Regions from separate parts of the Homo sapiens genome. Here regions 2, 3, 4, 5 and 6 are each linked to region 1. The links are contacts of gene promoters, found by promoter capture Hi-C in blood cells and fetal thymus (Javierre and others, 2016). All regions are on one chromosome and are shown on one strand. The core of a region is centred on a gene start or on the middle of the fragment in contact, and the rest is flanking DNA. Distances in the headings are between cores, read along the strand shown. Region 1 holds the start of BMP10 (bone morphogenetic protein 10). Region 2 has its middle 34 kb from the start of ARHGAP25. Region 3 has its middle 16 kb from the start of ARHGAP25. Region 4 has its middle 38 kb from the start of PROKR1. Region 5 has its middle 18 kb from the start of PROKR1. Region 6 overlaps ARHGAP25 (Rho GTPase activating protein 25).

Region 1 (3,059 bases), core at 208-2,707:
ATAGGCTGTCTGCAAGCTAAGGATCGAGGAGAGCCAGTCCAAGTTCCCCGACTGAAGAACTTGGAGTCCCATATTCAAGGACAGGAAGCATCCAGCATGGGAGAAAGATAGGCTGAAAGTCTAGGCCAGTCTCGTCTTTTCACGTTTTTCTGCCTGCTTTATATTCTAACCGTGCTGGCGGCTGATTAGATGGTGCCTAGCTAGATTAAGGGTGGGTCTACCTTTCCCAGCCCACTGATTCAAATGTTAATCTCCTTTGGCAACACCCTCACAGACACACCCGGGATCAATACTTTGCATCCTGCAATCCAATCAAGTTGACAGTAAGTATTAACCATCACACCAAGCTTTTGCTGGAGCCTCTTGATGACAATTTTGATTGAGTCAGAAGGATGAATTTCGCAGAGATGTTGGTTATATTAACAACTCATTGCACAGATGGAGGACCTGAGGTCCACATCCAGCTACAAATTTCTGCCTGCCTCCTGCCTCCAGGCTGATCTGGGGACGTGTTGGCCTCTCAGCATTATTGCCCATGCCCTAGTCTGGTAGAAGAGTGGTTTAAAAGTGTGACTGTTTTATTCTTCATAAGAATCAGGCTGCCTTGGTTGAAATTGTGGCCCCATCACTTTGCAACTTTGTGGCCTCTGGCAAGCTATGGCACTTCACTGACCCATATATGTGATGGAGATAATGATACGGTTATTACAGGAGCACACTTGATGATAGGTGTAAAGCACTCAGTACAATGCCTGTTTGTAGGAAGCATCTAATAAATTCTAGTTGCCAGTATAACTAAGCACTTGCCCTATTTTTCAAATGCTATTTTAGCCAGATCAAATAGGTAGGAAAAAGCCTGTCAATCATGAAGTTTATACTTTCCTGTTTCTAAAAAGGTACACTTCTAAAAATTTATATAATTCATTTATAGCTATTAACTTAAACTTGGAAAGTTTGGATATTTGGTCTGTCTTCACAAGTGTTTATCTGAGCCCTACCTCTCAAATTAACATGTATCACCATTGATGTGCATTATGTTGATTCTTATACCTATTATATGCATGTGTGAAACTAAGCCCCATAAAAACAGAATTTAGGCATTCCTGCTGAAAGGAAGTGAATTGAAGGGAAGAGAAGCAGAGCCTTTGCAAAGAGAAAATTGTCCTATCTCTCAACCAGTGTCAGAATGTGGAAATGTTTACAAAATGCTCATTAAAAGAAATAGGGATTGCAAGATAGAAACAAATTCTGGTGCACAAGTTTACACTAGGGAGATAAGAAAGGCTAGGCCCCTATAGGGGATTTTGTTATCCAATTACTGCAACCTGACTTTTAGGGGGAGAGGAAGAGTGGTAGGGGGAGGGAGAGAGAGAGGAAGAGTTTCCAAACTTGTCTCCAGTGACAGGAGACATTTACGTTCCACAAGATAAAACTGCCACTTAGAGCCCAGGGAAGCTAAACCTTCCTGGCTTGGCCTAGGAGCTCGAGCGGAGTCATGGGCTCTCTGGTCCTGACACTGTGCGCTCTTTTCTGCCTGGCAGCTTACTTGGTTTCTGGCAGCCCCATCATGAACCTAGAGCAGTCTCCTCTGGAAGAAGATATGTCCCTCTTTGGTGATGTTTTCTCAGAGCAAGACGGTGTCGACTTTAACACACTGCTCCAGAGCATGAAGGATGAGTTTCTTAAGACACTAAACCTCTCTGACATCCCCACGCAGGATTCAGCCAAGGTGGACCCACCAGAGTACATGTTGGAACTCTACAACAAATTTGCAACAGATCGGACCTCCATGCCCTCTGCCAACATCATTAGGAGTTTCAAGAATGAAGGTAAGTTTTTGCTGATGAAATTTTGCTAGGATTTTTTTCAAGACACAATAAGTAAATTTACAATGCATGGGAATGATATAGGTAAGGGTAAATACATCTATATAAGGATGTTAAATACATATGGATACACAAAAACAAGGCACATTTTGTTCTATACCAATTATATAGTCATTTCAGGAACCTCGAAAAATACTTACAAACATCTTTTAATCCAAAGCCACAAAACATCTATCAATTTGACATCATAATTGGGTCCTTTTAAAAAATGTTAATTTGAACACCAAGTAATACAAAGAATTAATGTTGGTCTACTGCCGTACCTTTGTCATTTTCCAAATAGGCCTTGATTGCCATATGGGCTTTTAATTAACTAAAAAATTTCTCAACTTCTACTTAGAATAAAAAGGGTAAAAACAGTCAAAAAACATCAAATTGTGATTTGTGTTTTGTTCAAACTTTTGATAAGTTTTTATTTTGTGACCTTATTTAAGAAATGTTCAAACAGGATGGAAATATATTTTAAAGATTCTTCCTAAGGCTGTGTTGTTTGATGTGTCATGTACATCCTTAAAGCACTGTTTACAGTTTCCAGGAAGTGTAGATGGCCCATTAATCATCCAGCTCATCATTTCCGTCTTTATAAAGAGCAACGTACAAGCTTTGAATTATTGGTGGGAAAAGTGTGTTTTCTTCTCTTAGGTCTTTAAATTTGGTAACTAAATCTAATGAGCTAGCAAGTTAATGTTTTTGTTTGTTTGTTTGTTTGTTTGTTTTTTGGTTAATATGGTCCTAGTAGGAAAAAAAACCCCTGATATCTAGATATCTATAGTAGAAGCTGAAGGTCCAAAGGAACTAATTTAATTTTTGCCAGTTATGCTTTTATAGTCACTAACCAGGTATAAAAGAAGCTTCCCGTTAATATTGGCCAGATGTTCTTGAAAGAAGAAAGGTAATAGTGAAGAAATAGCTCAGGATTTGGGATTTTGAGAGCTAGTTGGCTTAGTGGTTGTGAATAATTAGCTGATGCCTCAGAGCCTCAATTTCCTCATCTATAAAGTGGGAGTAATAATACCTACATAACATAGTTGAGTGACTCAAAGGAGGTTACAGATAAGAAAGCACTCCATTTACTATGAAGTGCTGATCAAACTTTAGTGACTACTAATGAGTTACTTAATATTCTAGGTACTGGAATAAATGTTGAGTAGGTATTCCTTAGTCCCTAAGATA
Region 2 (3,268 bases), core at 645-3,144, 170 kb after region 1:
CAGGGTCTGTTGCTGCCATCTTAATGTCCATGAATACTCAATGTTTAGCTCCCACTTGTAAGTACAAACATGCAGTATTTGATTTTCTATTCCTGTGTTAATTCATTTAGGATAATGGCCTCCAGCTGCATCCATACTGCTACAGAAGACATGATTTCATTCTTTTTCACGGCTGGGCAGTATTCTATGGTATATATGTACCACATTTTCTTTATCCAATTCACTATTGATGGATAGCTAGGTAGATTCCATATCTTTGCCATTGTGAATAGTGCTGCAATGAACATAAGAGTATGTGTGTCTCTTTGGTAGAACAATTTATTTTCTTTTGGATATATACTCAGTAATGGGATTGCTGGGTTGAGTGATAGTTCTGTTTTAAGTTATTTGAGAAATCTCCAAAATCCTTTCCATAGTGGCTGAGCTAAATTTACATTTCCACCAACAGTGTATAAATGTTCCCTTTTCTCTGCAGCCTCACCAGCATCTGTTGTTTTTTGACTTTTAAATAATAGCCATTGTGATTTGTGTGAGATGGTATCTCACTGTGGTTTTGGTTTGCATTTCTTTGATGATTAGTGATGTTGAGCATTTTGTCATGTTTATTGGCTGCTTGTCTGTCTTCTTTGGAGAAATGTCTGTTTATATCTTCTGCCCATTTTTTAATGGGGTTGTCTTTTACTTGTTCAATTGTTTAAGTTCCTTATAAATCCTAGATATTAAAACTTTAATGGAAGCATATGTTCAAGGAGTATACGTTATATAATTTGAATCATTTAAAAATTATTTTAAATATTGCCTATCTTGATAAATGATGTATGTGCACTTGAAAAGAATATGTATTCTAGCGTTGTAAGTGGATTTTTCTATAATTGTAAAGTAGATAAAACTGGTTGATAGCTTTGTTCAGATTTCTATATCCTTACTTACTTTTCCTCTACTCATTTTATTTATTTCTAAGGGTAAAGTATTAAAACCTTTAGCTGTAATTTTGAATTTGCCTTTGTCTGTTTTCTGTTTTATCAGGTTGGGTTTTTAAAAATTATATTTTGAAATTCTGTTATTAGGGTCTTTGTTCCTTTTTTCCTGCACTTTTTAATTAATTTGCTATTTTTATAAATCTATTTTATTTTATTTATTGGATTATTAGCTATAACTCTTTTATTTATTTATGTATTGGTTAGTAGTTGTTATAGGACTACAGTACTTAAACTTATCACTGTCTACCTTCAAGTAATATTATGCCACTTTACATGTAGCATAAACTCCTTTCAACAGTATACTCTTATTTTCCCTTGCTCTGTCACTGTGCTATCACTGTCATACATTTTAATTTATATATATTATAAATACAACAAAAAGTTTAATTTTTGCTTTAAGCAGTCCATTATCTTTTCAAGAAATTTAGAAGAATAAAAGTCATTTAAGATTTCCTACCATATTTGCCATTTCTATCACCCTTCAATCCTCTGTGTATATCCAAATTTTATTTCCATCTAGTATTATATTCTGCTACCTAAAAAAAAAATTTTTAACCTCTATCATAGTGCTGATGTGCTGGCAATGAGTTTTCTCAGGATTTGTTCACCTAAAAAATATTCATTTCACCTTTATTGTTGAAATATATTTTCACTAGGTATATAATTCTAGGAAGACAGGTTTTTTTGTTTTTTTTTTTTTTTATTTAAGACAGTGTCCATTGTCTTCTGGCTTGCATCGATCCCAGTGAGGAGTTGGCTGTTATTCTTGTATTTGTTTTTCTGTATGCGATGGGTTTGCCCCTCCTTCTATCTTCTCTTCAAGACTTTCTCTTTCTATTTAGTTTTCAACAGTTTGGCTTTTTTCATTGTATTGTTGTTCTTTGAGCTGTTTGGATCTGTGGTTTGTTATATTTTATTAATTTTGAAAAAATTTTGACCACTATCTCTTCCAATAGTTCTTCTGCTATATTGTCTTTCTCTTCAGCTTAGCAGACTGCCTTTGTTAGATGTTTGATATTGTTCAGAAATCTTGAGTTCTTTAATTGTTTATTTTCTGTTGCTTTATTTTCTTTGTGTCTTATTTTGAGTAATTCCTAATGATATATCTTCAAATTTGCTGGTTATTTTCTCTCCTGCTTCTCTATGACATTCTAACCAAAAGAAGTATATTTCTTTAGCATCACAGATTTTAAAATCTATAACATTTGATGTGACACTTTTTTTTGAGACAGGGTCTTGCTCTGTCACCCAGGCTGGAGTGCAGTAGTATGAGCACAGCTCACTGCAGCCTCAATCTCCTGGGCTCAATCAATCCTCCTGCCTCAGCTTCCTGATTAGCTGGGACTATAGGCACAGCCACTATGCCTGGCTAATTTTTTAAAAAATATTTTTGTAGAACTGGGGTTTTGCCATGTCGCTCAGGCTTCTCTTAAACTCCAAGTCTCGAGTGATCCTCCTGCCTCATCCTCCCAGAGTGCTGGAATTACAGGCATGAGCCACTGTACCCAGCTGACACTTTTTTACAGTTTTATTTTTTTTCTGCTGAAATTTCTCATCTGCCTATACAAGCTGACCACCTTTTTTACTATATTCTGTATTATATTAATCATAGTTATTTTAAATCCTTTGGCTGATAGTTTCAACATCTTGGCCATTTCTGAGTCTTGTTCTGTTCTCTTTATCTCTTGATAATATGTTTTTCCTTTTTTTTCTCTGTCTTATAATATTTAATTGAATGCCAAACAATGAATGTTAAAGAATGGTAGAGAGTAAATTAAATAATGTTTATGTTGGAAAATTGACACAGTTATTTTTTCAGACCAAGTGTGTTTGTGTGTGTGTGTAGATGTGTGTGTAAAGGAGTGAGTTGATCTAGCCAATAATTGAGCTTAGTTTGGATTTTCTTTTTCTTTTTGGTGCTATAGTTTTAGTGTACCACTGCACTGGCTTCCTATTCCTTCAGTGGTAGATCATTGCTACCTTGTGGTAAGCAGTCTTGAGTTCCAGATGGTTTTTGTTAATAATGCCACCCTGCCTTCAGTTTTTAGCCAGGCCTGGCCTCTTGTGTCACAGAGATGGTCTCTGTACTCACTTTTACTCAGTGGTAGTTGCTGGTTCTTCAGTTGAGGCTCATGGTGGCAGCAGGGGCTGTTTCTCTGTTCTGCTTCAGCCTCAGTTTTAGGCAGTCTCTGTCTTCCTGAATCACAGAATATGGCTTTCTCTTTGTCTGTCTTCCTCCAGTGCCAGATAACCTTTGTCTTCTACGAAGTCCAGGGCCTAACACACAG
Region 3 (3,299 bases), core at 781-3,280, 150 kb after region 1:
AGCCACTTCCTGCCAAGGGACAGCATTTCTGTCTAACTCCTGTAATTTTGAAGATGGAGACCTTCCCTGACTGGGTGTGTGATTTCTAGAAAAGAACCCTGATCAGTCAGCTGATAGTGCACAGGAAGTTGCTCTGGCTTTTTACCGAAACCATCAATTTGGTCTTCATGTAACATTAAAGATTCCTTTTCAAAAGGAAATCTTTAAGCATGGACTTTAGATCAGTGAACGCGACAGGTCACTGGACAAACCTGGACATAGGCGTACCTTATTCTGAGTTTGGGAATAAAACAGGTGATTATGATGGTGGCATGAGTCAGGTACCAAGAGAAGGTCAGAGGCTGGGACCCATGGGGGTCTGGGTACCAACCCCTGCTCTGTCATTACTGGGATTTCTGAACCCCAGACTTCTCATCTACATGGATAGGGTGATAATATCTACTGTGGGGTATTCTTATAAGAAGTAGGTTTCATGTATATGTAAAGTGCCTGGGTCATAGCAGGCACTTGTTAAACAGTAGTGTTAATAATCATTAAGTTACCTTAAAATGGTATCTGACAGCAAAGTTGTGGTAGGCTGAATAACAGCCCCCGAGGATATCCACATCCTAATCCCTAGAACATGAGAATGTGTTCCTTTACATGTATATAGAAAAAAAAAAGTTATTTTTTTCCTCTACATTTTCAACACTTTGCATCTGGTCACCAAAATGTGGGCGTTGTTCTTATTTGTTTGTTTGTTTTGTGGGGTTTTTTTTCTTTTTTTTTTTTTTTGCCATGTCGACCAATTCCCTGATACCAGCTGGGTGTCCTACAATTCAATTCGGTTCTGACACTATCTACCTGGAGTTAGCATCAGGTGCCACAGACGAAGGGCGCAGTCTTTCAAAACTGCCCCCACTTCAGACACCAGTCAAAAGTCCAGGGTTCTCACTTGTGCTTCTAACAGACTGGCCATAAACTGGGGCTCCCATGACCCTCTCCTTGGGGTTGATAATTTGCTAGAATAGTTTAAAAAACTCAGGGAGACACTTATTGTGTTTGCCATTTTCTTTTATAATAAAGGACATAAAGAGGTATATAGGATGAGGTCTGGAAGGGCTCTGAGTGCAGGAGCTTCTATTCCTGTGGAGCTGGGGTGCACCACACTTCTGGTACATGGATGTGTTTACCAACCCCAGAGCTCTCCAAAACCCATACTTGAGGGAAATTTTTTTTTCTTGGAGGCTTCATCATGTAGGCTTGATCTATTACTAACTCAATCTCTAGCTCTTCTGCCCTCCCCAGAGAATGAAGGTTGGGAATTAAAAGTGCTAAGCTTCTAATCATGGCCTTGTCTTTCTGATGACAAGCCCCTATCCTAAAGCTATCCAAGGCCTCATCAAGAGTTGTTTCATTTGAATAAAAGACACTCTTATCACCCAGAAAATACCAAGAAATTTAAGAGCTCTGTGTCAGGAACTGGACTCAAAGACCAAATGTTAGAACAAATGATGCTGCTAGTACCCGTACCACTTAGGGAATTAGAAAAGTTTAGGAGCTCTATGTCAGGAACCAGGGTCAGAGACAAATATCTCTATCTATGTATCTATCTAGGTATCTATGTACCTATCTATCTGTCTAGGTATCTATCTATTTATCTATCTATACATACACACACACACACACACACTTATATATTTCTTATTATTTCACAATATGGTAAAAGTACTTTGCAGATGCGATTAAGTCAAGGATATTGAGATGGGGATGCCATGCTGGATTATCCAAGTGTGCCCTTATAAGAAGGAGGTAAGAAGAGATTTGACTGTAGAAGTAGAAAGTGTGAGTACAAAACAAAGTTCAGAAAGATGGAAGAAAGGGGCCATCAGGCAATGCTGGAAGCCTCTAGAAGCTGGGAAAGGTGAGAAAATGATTCTCCCCTTAGATCCTCCAGAAAAAGAAAATGTGATGTGATGCTGCTGGTCTCTGGATCAGACTTTGAGTAGCCAGGCTCTAGAGGTCTACTTTGAGGGGACACATTTGATTGGCAAAGAAGATACTTTTTTTTTTTTTTAACAAATCTGCCCTTAACTAAGTTCCCAATTCTCTGTAACCCTTTATAACACTCTTTGATGAGTGCATAGTAGCTGCTGAGTGTTCACAGCTGGTAGTACACCATTTACTTCTACTCCCACCAAGTGAATTATCTGTTGCCCAGCTAATGCATTCCAAGATGATATAAACCGTACTTACTATTCTAATTATATGATAAAGTGGGTTACTTAAACCAATGAAATATGAGTGCAAAAGAAAAAACAGAGCTCTTTTTATGAATATTAAGTTAATGGCTTTGGAAAGGAAGAATAAATTTATATTGGCAAAAATATGTCAATTCACATGTGGGTAAGTGGAAGGGGGACTCATAAAAACCCCTACACTTGGAACACCTTAAAATATGTCTTAGTTTTCACTCCCACTTTAAAGAAACCAGAACTTTTCTGCCATTGCTTTATGGATAGTGTTTATACAAAGAAAAGCCATAGGAATATGCATCTGCTTTTTAAGTTGGAATGTGAAAGGCCGAGTGACTGCTGTCACTCAATAGCGGTGATGATAGGTTTGCTCACAGCTCAGACCTTTGGCTTCACATATGCAAGACTGCAGTTTTTACCTAACACCCTTGTCAAGCCTCAACTCCACAAACCTGTCAGAGGCTGTGATTAAGTTATCGTCTTTTGCAGAGGAAGTGTCTAAAGCTTAAAAAGAAAAGATTGAATTGACTCAGTTCTAGAGCCAGTAAAAGCCTCAACATCCTGACCCTGGGCCAGATCACAATGCTTCTCCCATACTGTGCCTTTTAACATAGAGGTCCCTGATTCACACAGCAATGAACCTAAGGTTTGATGTATTCAGTCATGTGCCACATAAAGACATTTCTGTTGATGACAGATCCCATATACAGTAGTGGTTTCATAAGATAATAATATTGTATTTTACTGTACCTTTTCTATGTTTAGATATGTTTAGATGCACAAATACTTACCACTGTGTTACAATTGCCTACAGTACAGTAACACGCTATACAGATTTGTAGTCTAGGAGCAATAGCCCGTACCATATGGCCTAGGTGTGTACCACCTAGTTTTGTGTAAGTATATTCTATGACATTTGCACAATGAAATCACCTGAAATCACCTAACAACCTATTTCTCAGAACATATCTTCATTGTTAAATGATGTGTGACTGTATTTAACTAAAACAGAAACATTAAGGAATACACATAAAACAAATACTGCGAAAAATATTGAATGTCACA
Region 4 (3,007 bases), core at 305-2,804, 190 kb after region 1:
TCTTTTCAAGGAACAAACTTTAAATGTGTCCATTTTTCAGCCTTCTTTTTATTTTAAAATTTGTTTTTATATTTATTATTTACTTTCTTCTACTTCCTTTAGATTTACCTTTTTCTTTCATTTCTGGCGTATTCATGTGAAAACTTAGGTCATTAATTTTAAACCATTTTCCTTTAAGTATAAGCATTTAAAACTATAAATTTTTTCTAAGAACTGTCCCACAAATACTGATATATTATGTTTTATTATCATCCAGTTCAAAATATTTTTTCCTTATAATTTCTTCTTTGAATCATTGGATTATTTTTAAATGTGCTAATTTCTAAACTCTGAAGAATTATTTTAGCTGTATAATTGATATTGATTTATTATCCAATCACATTTGTCAGAGAACATACTCTGTATAATGTCAATTCTTTGATATTTATTAAAACTTGTTTTATGACCCAGCCGATAATCTATCTTGGAAAATCAATGTGTATTTTGTAGTTGTTGGATACTTAAGCTTTTTAAATATATTGGCATAAAGTTGTTCATGATAATGTCTTATGATTTTTAAAAGAGCTACTCTATTTGTACTTATATCGTACTTTCATAATTTTTTTTTCCTGCCTTTTCTTCTTGTGTCCTTTGTCAATTTTGACAGGGATTTCCCTCTTCTACAAGTCTTTTTAAAGAACAAACTTTACTGGTTTCATTGACCATCCACATTTTAATTTTTATTGTTTTCTGTGTTACTAATTTCTGATTTCTAAATTTTTGTTTACTAAGCTGTGGCATACCTTCCACCATGAAAGACTAAGTTCCATGTGGGAAAGGAAAGGACCTTTTCTCTCTAAATAAGTATTTAAGTAAATGAATACATGAAACAACTAATGTTTATGTGCCGCTTCCAGCATACAACCTGGTGTATGCTGAACAACCTGGTGTATGTTAGTACACAGGACTCATTTGTTTAATTCTTAACTCCTTCCCTCTCGGTAACATTTAATGCATCCTCTTCTTTCACACAGCCTCTGTTTGCTAGTGTTCCAGGACTTAATCATTGGCCATCTCTTCTTTCTATGCATACCTTCTAGACAATCTCATGTGATCCAATGGCATTAAATATTGTCTAGACATTGATGGCTCGATTTCCAGTCCCCGTTTTTCTCAAGATTTCCAGAATGGTATATCTGAGTACCTTCTCAATTCCTTCATTCTAACTTAACACTTAAACTTACTCTTTTTGAATATCTTACTACTCTCCCAAAGCCTGGTTATCCCCAGCACTCCCAATACATGAAATGTTACCACTCTTTGCCCCGTTTTTCAGGAAAAACCTTGGAAGCACCCCAACTCTTCTGTCTTCCTATATTTAATACTGGTAAAGTCCTATTAGTTTCAAATTCAAAATATAGCCTGAATCCATCCACTTTTCCCATTGAAATAGTCCTCCCAAATAGATCCAATGTCCCATTTGAGCTGTCAAACACGTATGGGCACATACCTGTGCATGTGTGTTCTGCCCCTGGCCCACCACACATGCAGGAAAGAACATCTTAATGACTGTGGATTTGCTAGAAAAATGTGAACTTTCCATTAAAACCTAACTACATTTATGGCATCAATTTTTAAGTGAAGCTGAATATGACTACCTTACTGATATGGTTTGGCTGTGTCCCCATCCAAATCTCATCTAGAATTGTAGTTCCTATAATTCCCACATGTCATGGGAGGGACCCAGTGGGAGGTAATTGAATCATGGGGGTGGGACGGGTCTTTCAGGTGCTGTTCTTATAAATAGTGAATAAGTCTCAGGAGATCTGATGGTTTCATAAAGAGGAGTTCCCCTGTACATGCTCTCTTTGCTTGCTGCCATGTAAGACATTCCTTTGCTCTTCCTTCATCTTCCACCATGATTGTGAGGCCTCCCCAACCATGTGGAACTGTGAGTCCATTAAACCTCTTCCTTTATAAATTACCCAGTCTTTGGTACATCTTTATTAGCAGTATGAGAACAGACTAATACACTTGCCTAGGACACATTTATATCTCACCAGGACTAGCGCTTCCTAACTGGCCTCCTTGTCCCACCCCTGCAACCACAGTCTATTCTACACATGATAGGGAGAATGCACATGTTAAAGGCACTTCGTATTGATTACTCCTCCACTCGAAATTCCCCTATGTCTTCTCAAACACTTAGAATAAAATACAAAGTCCTTCCACGGACTACATGGTCTTGTGTAATTTGGCTTCTGGCTCCCCAGTTTCTATCACTAATTTTCCTCCATTCTATTCACTCTGCACCACCTACCCCGGCCTTCTCACTATTCCTTAAACACTCCAGTCTTTTTCCCATTTCAGGGCCTTTGCACTTTTTCTTCAACCTGGAATTTTCTGCCCAGATATGCCAACAGCTTTTTCCTTTACCTTATTGAGGTGTCTGCTCACATGCCACCTCTTTCAAGAAAACTAAATCTAAAACAGCCATCAATCTAAAATAACCATCATCCCCAATTGCTGTTGGTCTTCATTTTCTTCATTTTCTACAGTATATATTCATTTGTTTATTCCCTGTCTATCCCCACAAGGATATAAACTCCAGAAGCCAAAGCTTTTTCTGATTTTCCCACCCACCAGACTTCTAGTGTTTAGAGCACTGCTTGCCACATAGTAGGCCTGTAATAAGTATTTGTTAAGTGAATGCATGAAGTAACAACTTTGAACTTACACTGCAACCCTAACTGAATGGGAAAACAATTTTTCTAAAATCCTACTACCAATTAGTTATGCAATCTTCAGCAAATTCCTAGAGCCAAACTTTCTTTTCTATAAAACAAAGAGTTTAGATTAAATAATTGCTACATTGTTTTCCAGCTTGTATATGTTCACTTTATAAACCCTAAAATTTCTGTAGAAAAATAGAGAATGCAGAAATAAAGCTGTACACCTATAGCCATCAAATCTTTGACAAAATTGACCAAAATAAGCAATGGGGAAAGTATCCCCTATTCAATAAATA
Region 5 (3,255 bases), core at 327-2,826, 250 kb after region 1:
CAGCTTTTGTGCACTGAGCACCTAGTGTTCCATCGATGAGACCTGGGTGGATGTTGCCATCAGTGTTGGTGGACACTGCACTAGAGATCTGAGCAAGAGTGCTTACTTCCAAATGCTCCATCTATTCTGCAGTTGCCTCCTCTCCTGATTGACATGTAGCAGCAGCACAAGCTATTTCCACCACAGCTGAGCTGGTAGGAGCATTAGTCACAGATGAAGAAAACCTAGGTTGGCTTGACTGCTTGATAGCTGCCATATCCTGGCCGTATACCCTACTGATTTTGAGACTTTCCTTTGAGGCCTCTGGCTTGCCCTGCCTGCCATAAAAATTTGTCTTGTCTTCATCTTGAATGGTACTTGGATTTGTTGCAGGAACTGATTCAGAGCTGTGGGGTGGGAGGTGGGGCTACTCTCAGTCTCAGCACATGTGTTCTGGCTTTCCAGATCTATTTCAGGTTCTGGATCTGCCTGAATTTTCTGCACATCACATGGAGACATGGATGACTTCTTGGGCTGCTGCCAGAAGAGATGCTTCAAGCCTTGGCCAATCACATTAAAGTACTCCAGAGCACTATGGGTCATTCTAGACAATTTGTTTTCTGACTCTGTCTGCTTCCTGGCCTTTGCATCTGCAAAGTAGAAAATGTGGCATTTTCTACTTTGAAAACTTTTCATTTTCTTGATGATATTTTCCCCTTATCTCTCCTCCTCTAATTAAGGAAAGACTGCAACCAAACTATCCCTCCCTGATACAGGACACTGTACCAATAGAGCAGTCCCTCCTCCATCCTACCTCAATCACACCCTGTGGTTCTTTATAACACAGTATATCTTTGATGCTAACTGTCACCAGGAAACCTTTCTCCTTAACCCAATGAAACAATAATCGTCTTTCACTAATGTCTTAGCCGTGTGATTGTGTGACTAGATTATACTTGGAGTCAGTAACAGAAAACAAACCACATACACTAATTATAAAATCTTTGGATCTGTTTTTAATTCCATGCAACTGATGTGGTAAAGTGACAGAAGATGAGCTAAACACAAATCTGGATTTTGTTCTGTCACTATCTGGGTGGCCTTAAAAATGCTACTTGGCCTCTCTGGGTCTCAATTTTCTCACTCATTCAGAAAAATATCATTTGATTACCCTCTATGTGCCAGGTCCTGTGTTAATCACAGGTAAAGAAGACATGATCTAGACTCTGTTGGTAGGGAAGATAAATAAAAAGAAAGAAAAGAACAGAAGGGAGGGAGGGAGGGAGGGAAGGAAGGAAAGAAGGAAGGAAGGAAAGAAGGAAGGAAGGGAGGGAGGGAAGGAGGGAGGAAGGGAGGGAGGAAGGAAGGAAAGGTGAGAGGGAGGGAGACAAGGAGAAAGGGAAGGAAGGAGCAAGTAAATATATAATAATAAATTTTAACATAAAATTTGTGCTTTTCAAACTTTTACTTTAGCCAAAATACTATTTGTTCAAGACAAATCTAACGTAGCAGCACTGACTTGCAAAATACGGCATGGCCCCACCATGTTGATCTCTACCACTCTCTCCTATGGCACTCTGCCCTTGTTCATCCCACCTCTGCCACTGTGGTCTTGTCATTCCTGAATCATGCTAACTCACTCCCAACTCAGGGTCTTGCCACCTGCTGCTTCCCCTGCTTGGAACATTTCCCCCATATCTTCAGATGACCTGACCTTCATTTCATTCATATCTTTGCTTAAATATCACCTCAGAGAGGACACCTCTGATAACCCTATCTAAAATCATTTTGTGTTCCCCAGTGCCTTCCTACCTTGTTCTGCTTTATTTTTTTATCATTTATTTCCACTTGAAATTATATGTTTTTTCATTTTTATTTTCTCTCTCATCAATGTAAATTCCATGACAAGGTCTCTGCTTTCCTAATTTCTCTTTGTAACTTCTTTTATCAGGCCAGACTCATAGTAGGAGCTCCATTAATATTTGTCAAATGAACATTAGGAGAGAGATGACTAAAGGGGGAATGGTTCTGTTGAAACATTGAGATAGGAAGCTAAGTCCTGTGCAATCTATTTCCTCCCCATGTAGCCCCTGAGGACACTTTCAGGTCTAACACTGCAGGACACAAATTATTTCATCAGGAAAGAGGTCTTAAACATTAAACTTTATTTTTTATTCATTTTTAAATTCCAAAACATGTACTCTGTTCTAGAATAAAAGCTATGCTATGTGCTTGGTCTCAAGGAGACAATAACATTATCTATTCTGTTTGGAGTTTATTGTCTAGCTATAAAAAATTAATCTAAATTAATGGGATGATATGATAGAGAAGCTGGGGCACACAGAAGACAGAGTAACTGCCTGCAGGACACCTTACATTTCTCCTCCATAAAAGGGATGTTTACTTCTCAGCTACAAAGTTTACTATAAGAATAAAATGAGAAGATGGATATGAAAGTGTTTGAAATACTGCAGAACATCCTCAAAAATCCAGTGTGAGTATGATTATTCAAGATTAAATAGAACATCAGGAAAAATGGCAGAGTAAGAAACTCAGGAGTTTTGCCCCCTATGAAAGCAACAAAAAATAAACTGTCAAAATCTTTCAACATTAACTTTTTTGGAACTCTGGAAATTAGCCAGAGATTGAGTAATATAAGAACTTATTCAAAAAAAACTAGGTAAGGGCCAGGCGTGGTGGCTCACACCTGTAATCCCAGCACTTTGGGAGGCCAAGGCAGGTGGATCACAAGGTCAAGAGATCGAGACCATCCTGGCTAACATGGTGAAACCCCGTCTCTACTAAAAATACAAAAACTAACCAGGTGTGGTGGCATGTGGCATAGTCCCAGCTACTCAGAAGGCTGAGGCAGGAGAATCGCTTGAACCCAGGAGGCGGAGGTTGTAGTGAGCTGAGATGGCACCACTGCACTCCAGCCTGGTGACAGAGTGAGACTCCGTCTCGGAAAAAAAAAAAAACAAAACAAAACTGTAAGAACAACAAGCATTGTGGGGTTTCAATTTACCCTAGTGCAAGCCCTTCTCCCAGGCCCAGCAGTAGTCTTGGAAATAATAGCCTATATTCCCAGCACCACTGGAAGTGGATTAACTGTATTCACAAAAAATTTGTCATTATGTAACCTATCTGGTGACTTCCTGGAAGACTGCTTGAAAGCCTTATCTTTATCTTACTTGACTCAATACTTACCTACTGTTAAAGCTAAAGCTGCTAACCAGGGGGGCATTTGTCAAAAACAATTATAGGCAAAAGTTTTAA
Region 6 (3,098 bases), core at 236-2,735, 130 kb after region 1:
CCAAAATCAAGATCAAACAGATTGGTCTCAGGACAGAGCACAAGGGCTGGGCTGAGAATGGACTGGAGGTGACAACTCTACATCTGCTATCATTTTTACTCTGAGATGTCTGCATAAGGAGATTCCTCACTCACTAATAAAGTGGATTTCTGGCTTCTGAATGACCAGGTGCATGGAATCAAATGCAGAATGACAGTCAAAGAGGAAGAATGCATGCACAAGAATCTTTGGGTAGCAACAGCAGAATTGAGGACAAGAAAGGCGGGAGCCTCATTTTGAAGGTCCTGCTCTTCCCCCACAATTATATCTACAAATAATGATCTGAAAGAGAATGGTAGGCCAGGTACAGGACTCTTAGAGCTAATAGGAAAAACTGCTCTGCCATTGCTGTAACCCACATGTAAGTGATCACAAGCAGTTAAACACTGAGCCCCTGAAGCCCACACTAACAACTTCCAACCTCACTTCAGTGGCCAGAGGTACGCATGACAGTAGGAGATGGTGGGCAGCTCTGGAGGAGGAAGCACTAAGTCATGGAGGAGGGTCTTCCACACAGCAAACAACCCAGAGTCACTCTTTGCCTACCCAAAGCAAGGAAAGTTTGAGGAACTGCTCCTGTCATAGCACAGAGACAATGACATTTCTACAGCAGGAATTCTGCAGGAAACTTACCAGAAGCTATCATTATCCTTATTAGAAAGTCACAACTCAGGCATTTTACTTATTTGGAAAATAACTGGCAAAAATAGACAAACAAAACAAAGCAAAAAGGAAGAAAACAAGAATAGCCATGCAGACAAAATTGACACAATTCATGCAAATTGAGAAGGAAGTGAGTACATGGCATTTGGAAGCATAAAGAGTAAGAAGCAGAACATAACCAGTCAACTGCAGATCAGCATGTGTGCTGTGAGCCAGGAGCAGACACTGGGCAGGAAAGGAGATATCTGCAGATGTTGTAAAGACCATATGTCTAAAGAAAAGAATGAAGAACTAAACCTAATCAAGACAAACAAAACCTTGGCACTGCTGGCTGTGGTTTTCACCAATGACTTGATTCAAAGGAGCTGATATCAGATCTCCATTATAGCTAATGTCCATAACAATAATGATAATTACTAGTGTTTATGAAGCACTTACTAGACACCAGCTCTTATGCTAAAGTTTGACATAGATCATCTTCTCTTACCCTCACAATAACTGCATGAGTTAGCACTAGGATTGCACTCATTTTACAGTTGGAAAACCTGAGGTCCAACGTCACACAGTGACCGATCGATGATACTGGGATTCAAATTCAGGCATTCTGGCCCCAAAGCCAGCTTTTTAACCACTGTATGATAGCTGGCTCATTCCATTATGGTTAGTTTACACTTTGTCAGAAAATTCTTTTTGTCAACTTTATAAAATTATTTTAAAATATTAAAAAGTATTCACATCACACTCAGGAACTCTATATCTTACTGCTTCCTCTTTCACTTTGAAACTCCAAACCAACAAGGAAGCAAATGGTTCAGCCACCATAGGCCAAAATTCCAGCAGTGGGGTATCGCAGCCCCATCCAGAGCTGAGATCCATGTGTGCATATTTTGGGGGTGGATGGATAGTACGGCGTGGAAAGGAGACAGTGCGGCAGCTGTCACCTTAGTCAGTCACAGCTTAAGGAGAATAGATGGTAGTAGCAAAGTTGAGCATCACTTTTAGAAAGGTGGAGGGGTGGTGAGGGGTGCTTGCAGCATGAGAGGCACAGCAGGGCAATGCTGCTTAAGTACCTCTCACATACAAGTGAGCAAATACATGTTTTATGATGAGTGACTCAATGAGTGCATGAAATGAAATGACTGGTCTGAATGTACTGAAGATTGCATAATTTTATGTAACTCTAGGTAAAGAATATGAGTGGTCATGGAATTGCGTTTTACTTTATGAACTAAAAGAAATAACTTTCAACATTTTAATATTCCTTGAACCTTTCTTAGATAAATTGCAATGCTCAGTCACTACTAAAAAGTAGGAAATCTGAAGCTGAGTGTGGTGGCTCATGCATATAATCCCAGCACTTTGGGAGACTGAGGCAGGAGGACTGCTTGGGCCCAGGAGTTCGAGACCAGCCTGGGCAACATAGTGAGACTCCCCCATCTATATTTTTAAATAATAACATTTTTTAAAGTATGGAAATTATTTGCAATGAACACATAAACTCTGATCAAAGACAAAGACTAAAAGTATGCTAATCAAATGGGCGTTAGAAGTTGTGACTCAGCTTCAAATTTAGCTCTGCTTCCTGGCAGCCAAGACAAAGAGGAGAACACAGTAAGTTGCACTCCTGTCTTACTAGAAAGGAGGAAGCACTGCAGTCCCTCAAAGAAGACAAAGTTATTTTCTGAGCACTGAATTCCCAAGCAACTTTCTCACATAGAGTTATACATAGAAGTTGCTGGCGTTCTCCATTCTTCATTCTCATTTTTCCAGTACAATTAGGAGCAGATTTCATGAAATCATTACTTGCAGGGAAGCTATAAACTGAAGATATAACATTAAAAGACAACTCAGTGAGCCCTATTCTGCGAGGGTAGCAAGATAATGTAATCCAAGTACAGCTTCTAGTCTGATCTGAGGTTGGAAATGAGACTGCCTATAAAGAAAGGAAAGAGATGTTTGCTGAGCACCTAATATATGTCATACGCATGAAATATTTTCTTCCTCTCAGCATATGTGTTACTCTCTCATTTGTAGAAGCTAAGCAACTTGCCCCAGATTCACTACTGCTTAAAGCAGAGTCCCAAGCTCATGCACACTTTCCTATATCACACGTCCTCCTTTCTTTCACAATTTTTATCAAGAAGAGTCAATGGACAATTTAGCCCCTTTCTTTGGGCAATCTGAGGTTATTCTCCCCAGTGAGGGCCTAGAGTGCTGGTGTTACATACCGTATTAAGAACAACTCATTTTGTTCAAAAGCCAAAGGATCAGTTACTTGTGGGGTTGACTCATATATGCATGTTCAGAAATGTTCATGGCTCTTATCTAAAAGGAAGTCCATAGTATTGAGAGCTGTAAACTTCTCTGTTTAAATGGCCTGGGAAAGGATTTTTATA

The links. The method cuts DNA at HindIII sites, captures the fragments that hold promoters and counts their contacts. A CHiCAGO score of 5 or more calls a contact.
Region 2: a fragment that was not itself captured here is called in contact with the fragment with the promoter of BMP10 in region 1 in 7 of 17 cell types (naive CD4 T cells, activated CD4 T cells, total CD4 T cells and 4 more); the score reaches 7.4 in naive CD4 T cells.
Region 3: a fragment that was not itself captured here is called in contact with the fragment with the promoter of BMP10 in region 1 in 1 of 17 cell types (total CD8 T cells); the score reaches 5.2 in total CD8 T cells.
Region 4: a fragment that was not itself captured here is called in contact with the fragment with the promoter of BMP10 in region 1 in 3 of 17 cell types (naive CD4 T cells, non-activated CD4 T cells and naive CD8 T cells); the score reaches 7.5 in naive CD4 T cells.
Region 5: a fragment that was not itself captured here is called in contact with the fragment with the promoter of BMP10 in region 1 in 1 of 17 cell types (non-activated CD4 T cells); the score reaches 5.4 in non-activated CD4 T cells.
Region 6: a fragment that was not itself captured here is called in contact with the fragment with the promoter of BMP10 in region 1 in 1 of 17 cell types (naive CD4 T cells); the score reaches 5.8 in naive CD4 T cells.

Annotation. Positions count from the first base shown.
Region 1 is chr2:68,869,795-68,872,853 of GRCh38, reverse strand. BMP10 (bone morphogenetic protein 10) reads left to right here and starts at 1,457. Exons shown (of 2, transcript NM_014482.3): 1 at 1,457-1,829. The coding sequence starts at 1,496. RefSeq lists a silencer at 1,481-1,641. The HindIII fragment of the contact is 2,140 bases long and covers 350-2,489 here.
Region 2 is chr2:68,699,236-68,702,503 of GRCh38, reverse strand. No RefSeq gene overlaps it. Among named protein-coding and RNA genes, the nearest start is that of ARHGAP25, 34 kb to the left of the region's middle. The HindIII fragment of the contact is 6,753 bases long and covers 1-3,268 here.
Region 3 is chr2:68,716,904-68,720,202 of GRCh38, reverse strand. It overlaps a transcript of ARHGAP25 not described here. Among named protein-coding and RNA genes, the nearest start is that of ARHGAP25, 16 kb to the left of the region's middle. The HindIII fragment of the contact is 1,420 bases long and covers 1,321-2,740 here.
Region 4 is chr2:68,680,148-68,683,154 of GRCh38, reverse strand. No RefSeq gene overlaps it. Among named protein-coding and RNA genes, the nearest start is that of PROKR1, 38 kb to the right of the region's middle. RefSeq lists an enhancer at 2,774-3,007. The HindIII fragment of the contact is 2,094 bases long and covers 508-2,601 here.
Region 5 is chr2:68,624,437-68,627,691 of GRCh38, reverse strand. It overlaps the pseudogene LOC100379290. Among named protein-coding and RNA genes, the nearest start is that of PROKR1, 18 kb to the left of the region's middle. The HindIII fragment of the contact is 3,535 bases long and covers 1-3,255 here.
Region 6 is chr2:68,740,631-68,743,728 of GRCh38, reverse strand. All of the region lies in intron 1 of ARHGAP25 (Rho GTPase activating protein 25), which reads right to left. Among named protein-coding and RNA genes, the nearest start is that of ARHGAP25, 7.4 kb to the right of the region's middle. The HindIII fragment of the contact is 4,735 bases long and covers 1-3,098 here.